Linked DNA regions of Homo sapiens: region 1 is linked to region 2. Evidence: promoter capture Hi-C in human tissues and cell types (Jung and others, 2019). All regions are on one chromosome and are shown on one strand. The core of a region is centred on a gene start or on the middle of the fragment in contact, and the rest is flanking DNA. Distances in the headings are between cores, read along the strand shown.

Region 1 (5,739 bases), core at 929-3,428, 220 kb before region 2:
GCTAATTTTTGTATTTTTGAAGAGACGTGGTTTCACCATGTTGCCCAGGCTGGTCTCAAACCCCTGAGCTCAAGCAATCTGCCCACCTCAGCCTCCCAAAGTGCTGGGATTACAGGTGTGAGCCACTGTGCCCAGCTGACAAATTTAAACTATCTTTGGCACTCTTGTCCCCATTCTTTGTTCATCTTTCATACTGTACTCCTGCTTTAACCTAGCTTGTCTGCTTGCCCTCTCCTCATGATATGAGCAAATTCCCATTTATATTCTTCAACATACAATTTTTTTGCTTTCAGAATGCTCGCTTGTCTTTTATTTTGCTGGGTTATATCCAATATCTATTCTAAGACCTGACTCACAATATTTCTAAGAAGCCTTCCATTCATTCATTCACCATATACTGGTGTGTGTGTGTGTGTGTGTGTGTGTGTGTGTGTGTGTATGTGTGTGTGTCCATACACATATAGGCCTTCCAAATTAACTTAAACTCCACTATGTCCCTTCAGCAATTAGGTTAGGTACCCCATTTGTTCTACTGTTGTATATACTGCATGTTTTACACAGGCATTTTCAAGCTATTACACTTTATTCTGCCTTCCAATTAAACATTGTAGCAGTGACTCTTTCATCATCTATCCTGTATGATTGTCCCAATAATTAATAATAAAGTACTATAGTAGCAACTTGTACTCTCTTGATCCTAACAAAACCCTGTAATGGGCTAATATTACTTCATCCATATGTCTTCTTTGTAGACATAGAAACTGAGGTTTAAAGAGGTTACATTAGTTATTCCAAATCAAACGGCTTGTAAGTGGCAGGGAAGATGGCATTCAAGACCCGGGCTCAAATAACTAGCCTCAATGTATTAAGTAAGGCACTAATGAGGGGCATTGCATATTAAGTAAAGCCCTAGGAAAGGCATTGAGATAGAGGTTCTGAGGACAAAGAGGGCTCTAAATCAACAATCTTAACCGAAAAATACACAAAAAACTTGCTGGGCGAGGTCGGGCCTATAATCCCAGCACTTTGGTACCTGAGGCCGGCAGATTGCTTGAGGCTAACAGTTCGAGACAAGCTTGGGCAACATAGCAAGACCCTGTCTTTACAAAACAAACAAACAAACGAAAAATACACAAAAGCAACACCAGAGGCCCATTTGCATGGCGTGTTTTTGTTTATTTGTTTGGCCTAATATGGTTTCGTTTTGTTTGGAAGAAGGGATTGTGCCCTCCAAGCCTTTGTCGTTTCACTCACCTCTCCCAACCTGGCCCTGTCCAGCCCCTCCCTGGAGGGCTGGGCATATGGATGCTGGAGGTCACAGGCTGCCCAGGCAGGTTGGTGACCTCGGAGGCAGAACCACGGCCTCGAGTCGGGCCTCTAACGGCGAAAAGACTGACGCGGTTGGACCGCGCCATTCCCGAAATGTTAAGGAGCTTAAACTCCGCATCGTCCTCCAAGATAAGTAGGAAAAGGGCAGTCAGAAAGAACGTCTTCCCCGTCCGCCGTCTTCCTGCGCGCCCTTCTAGGAACCCAGCGTCCATCCCACGGCCTGATTTACTAAGGGAGTCTTGTAGCATACGGGAGGGGGAAAAGTCATTGATTGCAATTACGGTAATTTGGTTAGTTACTCAAACGGTCGTTTACATATAACTTGCATGTTAATATACTTCTGGAAGTATGCATATGTCCATACTTCTTTAACAGGGCACCCACGGCCGCCTGCTCACCCTACTTATGCAGCAAATTTTACTTCTCTCTCGGCTTCTTTAGCCTCGCAAACGCTATCGCTTAGGTCCGCTTCTTAAATATTGGCCCCTCCTCCCACCCGTAAGCTCCTCCCTTCGCCCTCTCTCCCTCGAGAGCTTCCAAACATCTTTTCCCCGCCCCCTTTTCTATTTCTGAACAGGCATGTTCCAGGCAGCTCACCCGACTCCTTAGATTACTATGGAATCGGTAGGGTCCTGACCGCTGGGGAAGCAGGAAAGCGTATCCTGGGAAGAAAGGCTTGGCTTGGACTCCGGAGAAGAATACTACATCGAGACCTGCTGGGGAATTTTATTTTATTTTATTATTTTTTTGGTCTTGGTTGTACTGAGGGAGGAAGAAGAGGTTGTGTGGCCCGGTCGAACTTGTGGCAGCCTGAAGGCCCCCTCAGGCGGCGCCGCGGGCAGCCCCGCAGCCGGGGCCTGGTGCAGCCTCCGCGGCCGCTGTCAGGGAAGCGCAGGCGGCCAATGGAACCCGGGAGCGGTCGCTGCTGCTGAGGCGGCAGTGTCGGCAGTCCAACCGCGACTGCCCGCACCCCCTCCGCGGGGGTCCCCCAGAGGTAAGCTACTCCTCCTTCATGAGTCACCTTTGCCCTGTTGGGTGGGGGGGGGGGTCCCTCTCCCACCCTGTCCCGCACAGTCTTCCCCACCTGAGTTCGACTACGAAACTGCCCTCTTGGTGTCAGCTGCACCCCGGGTTCCTTCTCCACCCTTTCCTCTCAGGCCTGGGGTCCTCCTCCGCTTTTTGGCTTCCTCTTCTATTAGCTCCTCCCTCTGCCTCGGGGATTCCCCCCTCCCTCACTCATCCCTGTTGCCTACGTCTCGAATAATTCTTTTTTTTAAGTCATGAACCCTTTCCATATCAGACGACTCCCATAATGCCCATCCTTGTCCTTCCTCGTCGTCTCTGCCCCTGCCCCAAACCTTTTCCATGGACTCCACCTTTATCTCTTTTCCTAGTTTGCACTTTTCCTCCTATGTCCCTGTGCAACTCCAGCACTGGGTTCCCATTTCCCTGAGCTAAAGATTGCATCCCTGTCTTCCTGTGCTGCTTCTGATTCCATTACCTCACTGTCACCCACCTACCCAGCCAGCTCCTGGCTTCCAAGAATTGCCTGTTCCCTTCTCCTTAAGGGATCTCGGGCCCTTGTCATCAATCCAAAAGTACCATTTACATTCTTACTTTGAACCTAGTCCTCACTCTTCTCTGGGATGCATTATGATCCCTATAACTTTCTTTAGCTTCTCTTTCTCCCTCCTCAATCCCCCAACTTTCTAGAGGTTTCTGTCTGTAGGGGAGAGATTTGACAGTGCCCTTCCCATTCAGGATTTCCAACTTTGACACCTCCCTCGAGTTTCAGGGATTTCTCTGATCCTTGTGACATTTGTTCTGTTTTTCCCGTGGGCTTCATGTGTTCTCTGTTACACTCTTTATCTCCACATACCACTTATTTCAGGATCAACTAAACCTTGAACTAAGAAGAAAAATGTGTTGTGAGCAGGGGGAGCCTCAGCTGCCTCAGGCCGTTCAGGACAGAAGGGTGTTTCTGAAGGCCGGAGCAAGTTTTGAAGAAGTCCCTATCAGATTACACTTGGTTGACTACTCCGGAGCAGCCACTAAGAGGGATGAACAGGCCTGCGTGGAAATTGAATGAGATTGTGAGAAAACTTGTTTCAGATTATTTAATTTTAGGCTTTTGTTAAAGGAATCACAGAATAGAGTGCCTTCTCACCCCTGTCCAGATCCATGAGGAATCAGTTTATTCTTGTGGTTTACTAGAATAGTTTTGGTTGGTTCCATAAGAATTCAGGCCTGGAGTGGGGTAAGGGTATAACTGGAAAAAGGAACATGAGACAATGGAAAGAGCTTGTACATTCAGAATCGGGACTCCTGGGTTCAGCATGTGACTTCCTCACTTGACCTCTAGAGTGATCCTTTTGGAAAATGCCCACTCTCTGTAGGCATCAGTGCAGTAATAAGTTGGTAGCAGGATGTGGGTTGGGGGAAAAAATCAGATTTGGTTTATTTGTTTACAAAACATTTTGGGTTCCTCAGGCAAAAGGTATTTATTAGTAGTGGTTTAGTCATCCTGAGAATTTTCCTTCACCTTGGTCTTTCTGTCAGATGTTTCTAGTCCACAACCAGGGGTGTAAGTCATTTTGAAAGACAAGCTCCAGGCCTGCTTCCTTCATCTGCTTTGCTTTTTCCCCCAGTGCATTAAGTGGCTGATTTTCTGTCCTGTTCCTCACGTACTTGATCCATAACTCCAGATTCTATAGGTAGAAAGTATGTTTGTGGGAAAGCACTTTGAGGAAGCTGGCTGGAAAAGAGAACTTGGAGTGAACTGAGACTTAGGCAACTAGTTGCTGCCATGTCTCTCTCAGCCTGTGATAGCGAAAGGGCACGTGAGATTCCATTCATTTTCTGATTCTAGGTCTGTTTGGGAGTAGTTATGTCATCTTATCCCACTTCCTTTCTCTTCCTTGTCGTTAGTCATGGTGCAGTCTCCTCATAATTCCCCTTATTAGAAGCTTTCCTGCCAGGCGCGGTGGCTCACACCTGTAATCCCAGCATTTTGGGAGGCCGAGGCAGGCAGATCACCCGAGGTCAGGAGTTCAAGACCAGTCCGGCCAACATGGTGAAACCCCATCTCTACTAAAAATACAAAAAATTAGCCGGGCATGGTGGCGAGCTTCTGTAATCCCAGCTACTCCGGAGGCTGAAGCAGGAGAATTACTTGAACCCAGGAGGCGAAGGTTGCAGTGAGCCGAGATCACGCCACTGCACTCCAGCCTGGGTGACTGAGTGAAACTCTGTCTCAGGAAAAAAAAAAAAAAAAAAGCAGCTTTCCTCCTTGGAAGCATCCCCAACCAGAAATCATATTTCCTCTCATTTCCCTGCTTTCTTCTTAGAGTTGAGTCCACGCTCCATGAGAATGCTGAACACCATCCAAAGCAGCAAATTGAGATTCCTTGATTTGGGGAAGAGGTTTGGGAGGAACCCTTCAATAATTGGCATGGGACAAGAGGGGACCCAGTCCAAGTGTATTTGGGACTCGCAGTAGGGAGGAACAATTCAGAGAGAGGTGAGTGCACAGGCTGCTTTCTTTGCCATCTGTTTCAGTAGCGGCTCCCATAGCTGGCTTGGGCTGTCTGGCTGGAATCTGCTTATACCAGCTCCATGGCTCTGCACAGAGTTCTCAGCCTGAATCAATATTGACTTAACTACCATGAGACCACTGCCCTCCCTACCCTCGTGCTAGTAGCTTGAGAATGCCCTCTCCCCTAATGCCCACACTCTCTGGGCCCTTGTGTCAGCAGTTACCTGGATCCTGGTAGGGCTGGAGCTGGCTTGACTGCCTGGCCCTGAGTTTCTATAAGGAAAAAGGAGTACTCAATCTCTACCTTTACCATTGAGGTCAAAGGGGAGAGATGAGTTGAGACATCCTTAAAGAAAGGTTTGAGTTAGACATTAAGACATGAGGAGGAACTCCTCAACAGCAGAACAGGCAGTCAAAGATGATATGGAGTCTCTTTTGAGGAGCAACCTCTCTTTAAAAATTATTTTTGGGCTGGGCACCGTGGCTCATGCCCGTAATCCCAGCACTTCGGGAGGCTGAGGTGGGCGGATCACTTGAGGTCAAGAGTTGGAAACCAGCCTGGCATGTTCGAGACAACATGGTGAAACCCCATCTCTACTAAAAATACAAAAATTAGCCAGGTGTGGTGGCGTGTGCCTGTAATTCCAGCTACTCGGGAGGCTGAGGCAGAGAATCACTTGAACCTGAGAGGCAGAAGTTGCAGTGAGCTGAGATGGCGCCACTGCACTCCAGCCTGGGTAACAGAGCGAGACTCCATCTCAAAAAAAAAAAAATTTTTTTTTGAAGGAATGCATGCATTTGGTAACAAATCCAATGGTACTCAAAGAGTTTATGAAGAAAAACAGCAGTCCTGTTTCCGTTCATCCCTACTCCTG
Region 2 (5,779 bases), core at 1,476-3,975:
AGGCTGGGAGTTGAAGACCAGACTGAGCAGTGAGACCATCCCCCCAAATTTGAAAAATTAATTGAGCGTGGTGGCATGCACCTTTAGTCCTAGCTACTCAGGAGGCTGATGTGGGAGGATCACTTGAGCCCAGAAGTTGAAGCTGCAGTGAGCTCTGATTGTGCCACTGCACTCCAGCCTGGGTGACAGAATAACAGAATAAGATCCTGTCTGTATCAAAAGAAACCCCAAACATATATATATATACATATATGTTTATATTAAATGTATATCAAATATATATACATTTGTATATATATTTGATATATATATTTGTATATATATTTGATATACATTTGATATATACATATATATACACACATATATATATAAAATAGCCAACGCTTATGTGCCAGGTACCATTCTATGAGTGTTATGTGTATTATGTTGAATCGAGATTTTCAGTTTGATTAGTCAATATCCCAATAAACTAAGCACTATTAGAGGAAATAATTCCTACCACTATGGAATGTCTCTATCTAAAGTGTCACAGGGCCAGGCGCGGTGGCTCACACCTGTAATCCCAGCACTTTGGAAGGCCGAGGTGGGCGGATCACTGAGGTCAGTAGTTTGAGACCAGCCTGGCCAACATGGCAAAACCTCATCTCTACTAAAAATACAAAATTTAGCTGGGCATGGTGGTGGGCGCCTGTAATCCCAGCTACTTGGGAGGCTGAGGCAGGAGAATTGTGCTTGAACCCCAGAGGTGGAGATTGCAGTAAGCTGAGATCATGCCACTGCATCCCAGCCTGGGTGACAGAGTGAGACTCTGTCTCAAGAAGGAAAGAAAGAAAGAGAGAAAGAGAGAAAGAGAGAGAGAGAGAGGGAGGGAGGGAAGGAGAAAGAAAGAAAGAAAGAGAGAGAAGAGAAAGAAAGAAAGAAAGGAAAGAAAGAAAAGAAAGAAAGAAAGAAAGAAAGAAAGAGAGAAAGAAAGAAAGAGTCACAGATAGAACTTTGCAGTAATAAGTGGGGTATCAACCATCCATATGCAACACATCTAGGTAGTTCAATGGAAATAAAGGATTCACACCTCTTAGAAACAAAGAACAGTTAAATATTAAAGCTGAAAGGTCCTGGATAGATAACCTAATCCAACCATCATGCCAAAGATGAGAAAACTAGAACCTGGAGAAGTGATTTATCCAAGATCAAAGAGCAAAGCAAAAGAATAGCAAGGACAAGTTTAATACACTGCTTTTCCCTTTGCTATGTTGTTCCCTCATATACATCTGAGTAGAGATCTTTATGATTACACCCATTCAGAAAAATAGGATTGGAATTGGAAGAATGTTCTTACCACCCAAATGTCATGGCAGAAAGAAATCAGAACATTCTGCTTTCATATATGATGGAGCAGATGGCCAGAGGGTTCCAGACAGATTTCTAAATGTCTACTGAGCCCTAACTATGACTATATGCCCCTGCCTATATGAAGCCTTAAGTCTTCCCCCCACAGACCACTAGCTCTGGCTAAATGACTTGAAAACTTTTTTGTTTTAAATATCAGAAAGGCAATACATAGCCTATATTTGCTCAACTCCTTTGGAAATGCCAAAATAACATCTCCAGTGAAAATAAAAGCAAGCCATGAAGTACAAAGGATATGACAACGAAAAAGGTACCAGTCCCATGTATTTTGATACTTTAATATAAGATATCTGGGCTGCTATTTTGAATCATTCCATGATAGCATCAGTCAAAACATAACATAGAGTATCTCCAAAAAAATCTGCTAATATGAGAATAGACATTTCAATCTGAAGTAACTAGAGTCAGGGAGAACAAACTTCAAATTGTAAACACACAAAGGAATAATTCAGTCATTCTCTGATATTATTCAGCTGTCTGATTATACCACCTAGCAATTTTTCTTTCTGATGTTCAATGATGCCACATCCCTTTTCCTTAGCTGCCTCTAATTAAATGCAATTCTTTAATAATATTTCATGCAAATTAAATCTGCTGGAGACTTAAAAACAAAAGAAAAAGTGGTGATTCACCCAGCAGCATATCCCTTACCTACCTGTGGCTCTGTGTGAGTTGGAGAGGGGGACTGATGCCTCAGCAAGAGCTGCAAGGGTAGCCAGCACTGAGGTGGTAGAATTTGAAAACTGTACTGTTGAGGCATGGGGGTCACCTATTTCAGTAAGAAAGACAAATGAGGTCCAATGTAGAGAAAAAATTGAGGCAAATTAAAAACAGCTTATTAAATCAAAACCTCAGCTTTTCCTTCTAATGTCCTCAATCTTGTTCTCTAACTCAAACTGATATAAGCCAATTATATCAGTGTTAAAATTCTTTTAAGGTTTAAAAAGTTTTTCCTTTAAAGTGGATTAAATTAATATACTTGGAGGGCCGGGCGCCATTCCTGCCTGTAATCCCAGCACTTTGGGAGGCCGAGGCGGGTGGATCACGAGGTCAGGAGTTCAAGACCATCCTGGCTAACATGGTGAAACCCCGTCTCTACTAAAAATACAAAAAATTAGCTGGGCGTGGTGGTGGGCGCCTGTAGTCCCAGCCACTTGGGAGGCTGAGGCAGAAGAATGGCATGAACCCGGGAGCCAGAGCTTGCAGTGAGCTGAGATCACACCATTGCACTTCAGCCTGGGCGACAGAGCGAGACTCCTTCTCAAAAAAAAAAAAAAAAAAAAAAAGTATACTTTGTACAGGGCCACTACATTCCCCTCATTTAATCATTCTCTTGGCACTGCCAGTGCTGAGCATTAGTAGCTAACAGACCAAGAGTGCTACCCACTCCCTAAGCTGACTGGGCAGAGCTCTCCTTGGCAGCAGGCAGTAAGTGTAAAATGCATACCTCACCCCAAGCTCAGCAGTGATAAGGGAATAGTCCCCTTCTGGGCTTTACCCAATCATACTACCTTTTTTCATCAGCTAGATAGATGTGAAGAATAGGATTCACCTCTAGTACAAGAATAGTTAAAAACCTAAAGTTTCATGGCCGGATGCTGTGGCTCATGCCTGTAATCCTCGCACTTTGGGAGGCCGAGGCGGATGGATCACCTGAGATCAGGAGTTCGAGACCAGCCTGGCCAACAAGGTGAAACCCTGTCTCTACTAAAAATACAAAAATTAGCTGGGTTGGTGGTGGGCACCTATAATCCCAGCTACTCAGGAGGCTGAGGCAAGAGAATCGCTTGAACTTAGGAAGTGGAGATTGCAGTAAGCCGAGATCGCACCACTGCACTTCAGCTTGGGTGACAGAGAAAGACTCCATCTCAATAAATAAATATATAAATAAAAAGTTTCATATATTGAATGTCAAAGGGTAGTACAATAGATTAACACTAAAAACGCTAAATGTTAAAAATACTTTAGTTATGTCAAGATGTACTTTTATTTTTTATTTATTTACTTTTTGAGATGGAGTCTCGCTCTGTCTCCCAGGCTGGAGTGCAGTAGCACGGTCTCAGCTCATTGCAACCTCCGCCTCCCGGATTCAAGCGCTTCTCCTATCTCAGCCTCCTGAGTAGCTGGGATTACAGGTGTGCACCACCACGCCCAGCTAATTTTTATACTTTTAGTAGAGACGAGGTCTCGCCATGTTGCCCAGGCTGGTCTTGAACTCCTGACTTCAGGTGATCTGCCTGCTTCGGCCTCCCAAAGTGCTGGGATTATAGGCATGAGCCACTGTGTCCAGCCAAGATGTACTTTTAAAAAGACTTTGTTCATAACCTTCTTCTCTTATATCTGTGTGCTATTCTCATAGCTAAGTTGTAAGAGGGAAGCGCACTAGATCTGGCAACAGACATGCCTAACTTTATGAACCAAAAGTATTACTCTAACTGTAGATATTTCCTTGTTGGGGAAAAAAAGTATTACTCAACAGTTTTGTATAAATCTTACTTTTATAAAATGAATTATATTTCTCTATTTCTTTCACTATAATTTCAGAGATACCTATTATGCCAGTTACAAATTTATTGCCTCTCAGTTCCGAATCTACCCTTCTTTGTCCTGCCTGGTGATGCTGGGGCTGGACCCTATAAACATTTCTTGTCAGCTGGCATGACATTAAGCTTTGTTAGTATAGAAGTAGAAGTAGCTGCTGCACCCTCTATTGGCTATTCCTGTATTCTTTTCTTTTTTCTTTTTCTTTTTTTTTTGAGACGGAGTTTTGCTCTTGTTGCCCAGACTGGAGTGCAGTGGCGCGATCTCAGCTCACTGCAACTTCTGCCTCCCAGGTTCACGCCATTCTCCTGACTCAGCCTCCCTAGTAACTGGGACTACAGGCGCGCACCACCATGCCCAGCTAATTTTTGTATTTTTAGTAAGACGGGGTTTCACCATGTTAGCCAGGCTGGTCTCGAACTCCTGACCTCAAGTGATCTGCCCACCTCGGCCTCCCAAAGTGCTGGGATTATAGGCGTGAGCCAGCACACTAAGCAATATATTTTATTTTTAAATGTACTCTTAATTTATTTTTTCAAGACAAACTCTGGCATTATCGCCCAGGCTGCAGTGCAGTGGTACAATCTTGGCTTACTCCAGCCTCTGCCTCCCAGGCCCAAGCTGTTCTCCCACCTCAGCCTCCCAAGTAGCTGGGACTACAGGTGTGCATCACCATGCCTGGCTAATTTTTTTTTTTTTGTATTTTTTGTACAGACCAGGTTTCACCATGCTGCCCAGGCTGCTCTCGAACTCATGAGTTCAAGCTATCCACCTGCCTCAGCCTCCCAAAGTGCTGAGATTATAGGCGTGAGCCATCGCACCCAGTCTACTCTTAATTTTTAAGTTTTCCCACTACCTATGCTTAAATATTCTTTCCAGTTTTTCTTCTTTCAAGAAGTCAGGGCCAGGCACGGTGGCTCATGCCTGTAATCCCAGCACTTTGGGAGGCCGAGGTGGGCAGATCACCTGAGGTCAGGAGTTTGAAACCAGCCTGGCCAACATGGTGAAACCCCGTCTCTTCTAAAAATACAAAAATTAGCTGGGCGTGGTGGCAGGCACCAGTATCCCAGCTACTTAGGAGGTTGAGGCACAAGAATCGCTTGAACCTGGGAGGCAGAGTTTGCGGTGAGCCAAGATCATGCCACTGCACTCCAGCCTGAGTGACAGAGTTAAACTCTGTCTCAAAAAAAAAAAAAAAAAAAAAAAAAAGGCCAGGCACAGTGGCTCACACTTGTAATCCCAATACTTTGGGAGGCTAAGGCAGGTGAATTGCTTGAGCCCAGGAGTTTGAGACCAGCCTGGGCAACATGGTGAAACCCCATCTCTACTAAAAACTACAAAAAAATTAGCTGGGTGTGGTGGCAGGCGCCTGTAATCCCAGCATTTTAGGAGGCCATGGCGAGTGGATCACAAGCTCAGGAGTTCGAGACCAGCCTGGCCAACATGGTGAAACCCCGTCTCTACTAAAGATACAAAAATTAGCCAGGCATGGTGGCAGGCGCCTGTAATCCCAGCTACTCGGGAGGCTGAGGCAGGAGAATCACTTGAACCCAGGAGGCGGAGGTTGCAGTGAGCTGAGATTGGGCCACTGCACTCCAGCCTGGGCGACAGAGCGAGACTCCGTCTCAAAAAAAAAAAAAAAAAAAGTTGTTTTAATCAGTGTGACTGAACCAATATGAATACAAAAGATTGTGAATGTTCTGATTACATGTATATATAAATTTAATGTAAAGTTTTTGTATCATCCTGCTGAATGCAAAATTATTTTAAATAACTGTTGATAGCTTATAAAATGAAGATCACTATTGCCCCCTGGTGGGCATGTTGGGGT

What was found. Contacts are between HindIII fragments. The study calls those that stand out against the background at their distance.
Region 1: a contact is called between the fragment with the promoter of PI4KB here and a fragment that was not itself captured in region 2, in 2 of the 25 tissues and cell types used here (adrenal gland and bladder).

Annotation. Positions count from the first base shown.
Region 1 is chr1:151,323,855-151,329,593 of GRCh38, reverse strand. PI4KB (phosphatidylinositol 4-kinase beta) reads left to right here and starts at 2,178. Exons shown (of 12, transcript NM_001369623.2): 1 at 2,178-2,323. RefSeq lists a silencer at 1,741-1,810 and an enhancer at 1,746-2,670. The HindIII fragment of the contact is 6,333 bases long and covers 1-5,519 here.
Region 2 is chr1:151,099,959-151,105,737 of GRCh38, reverse strand. It overlaps GABPB2 (GA binding protein transcription factor subunit beta 2), which reads right to left. Exons shown (of 9, transcript NM_144618.3): 6 at 2,063-2,176. Among named protein-coding and RNA genes, the nearest start is that of GABPB2, 32 kb to the right of the region's middle. The HindIII fragment of the contact is 8,752 bases long and covers 1-5,779 here.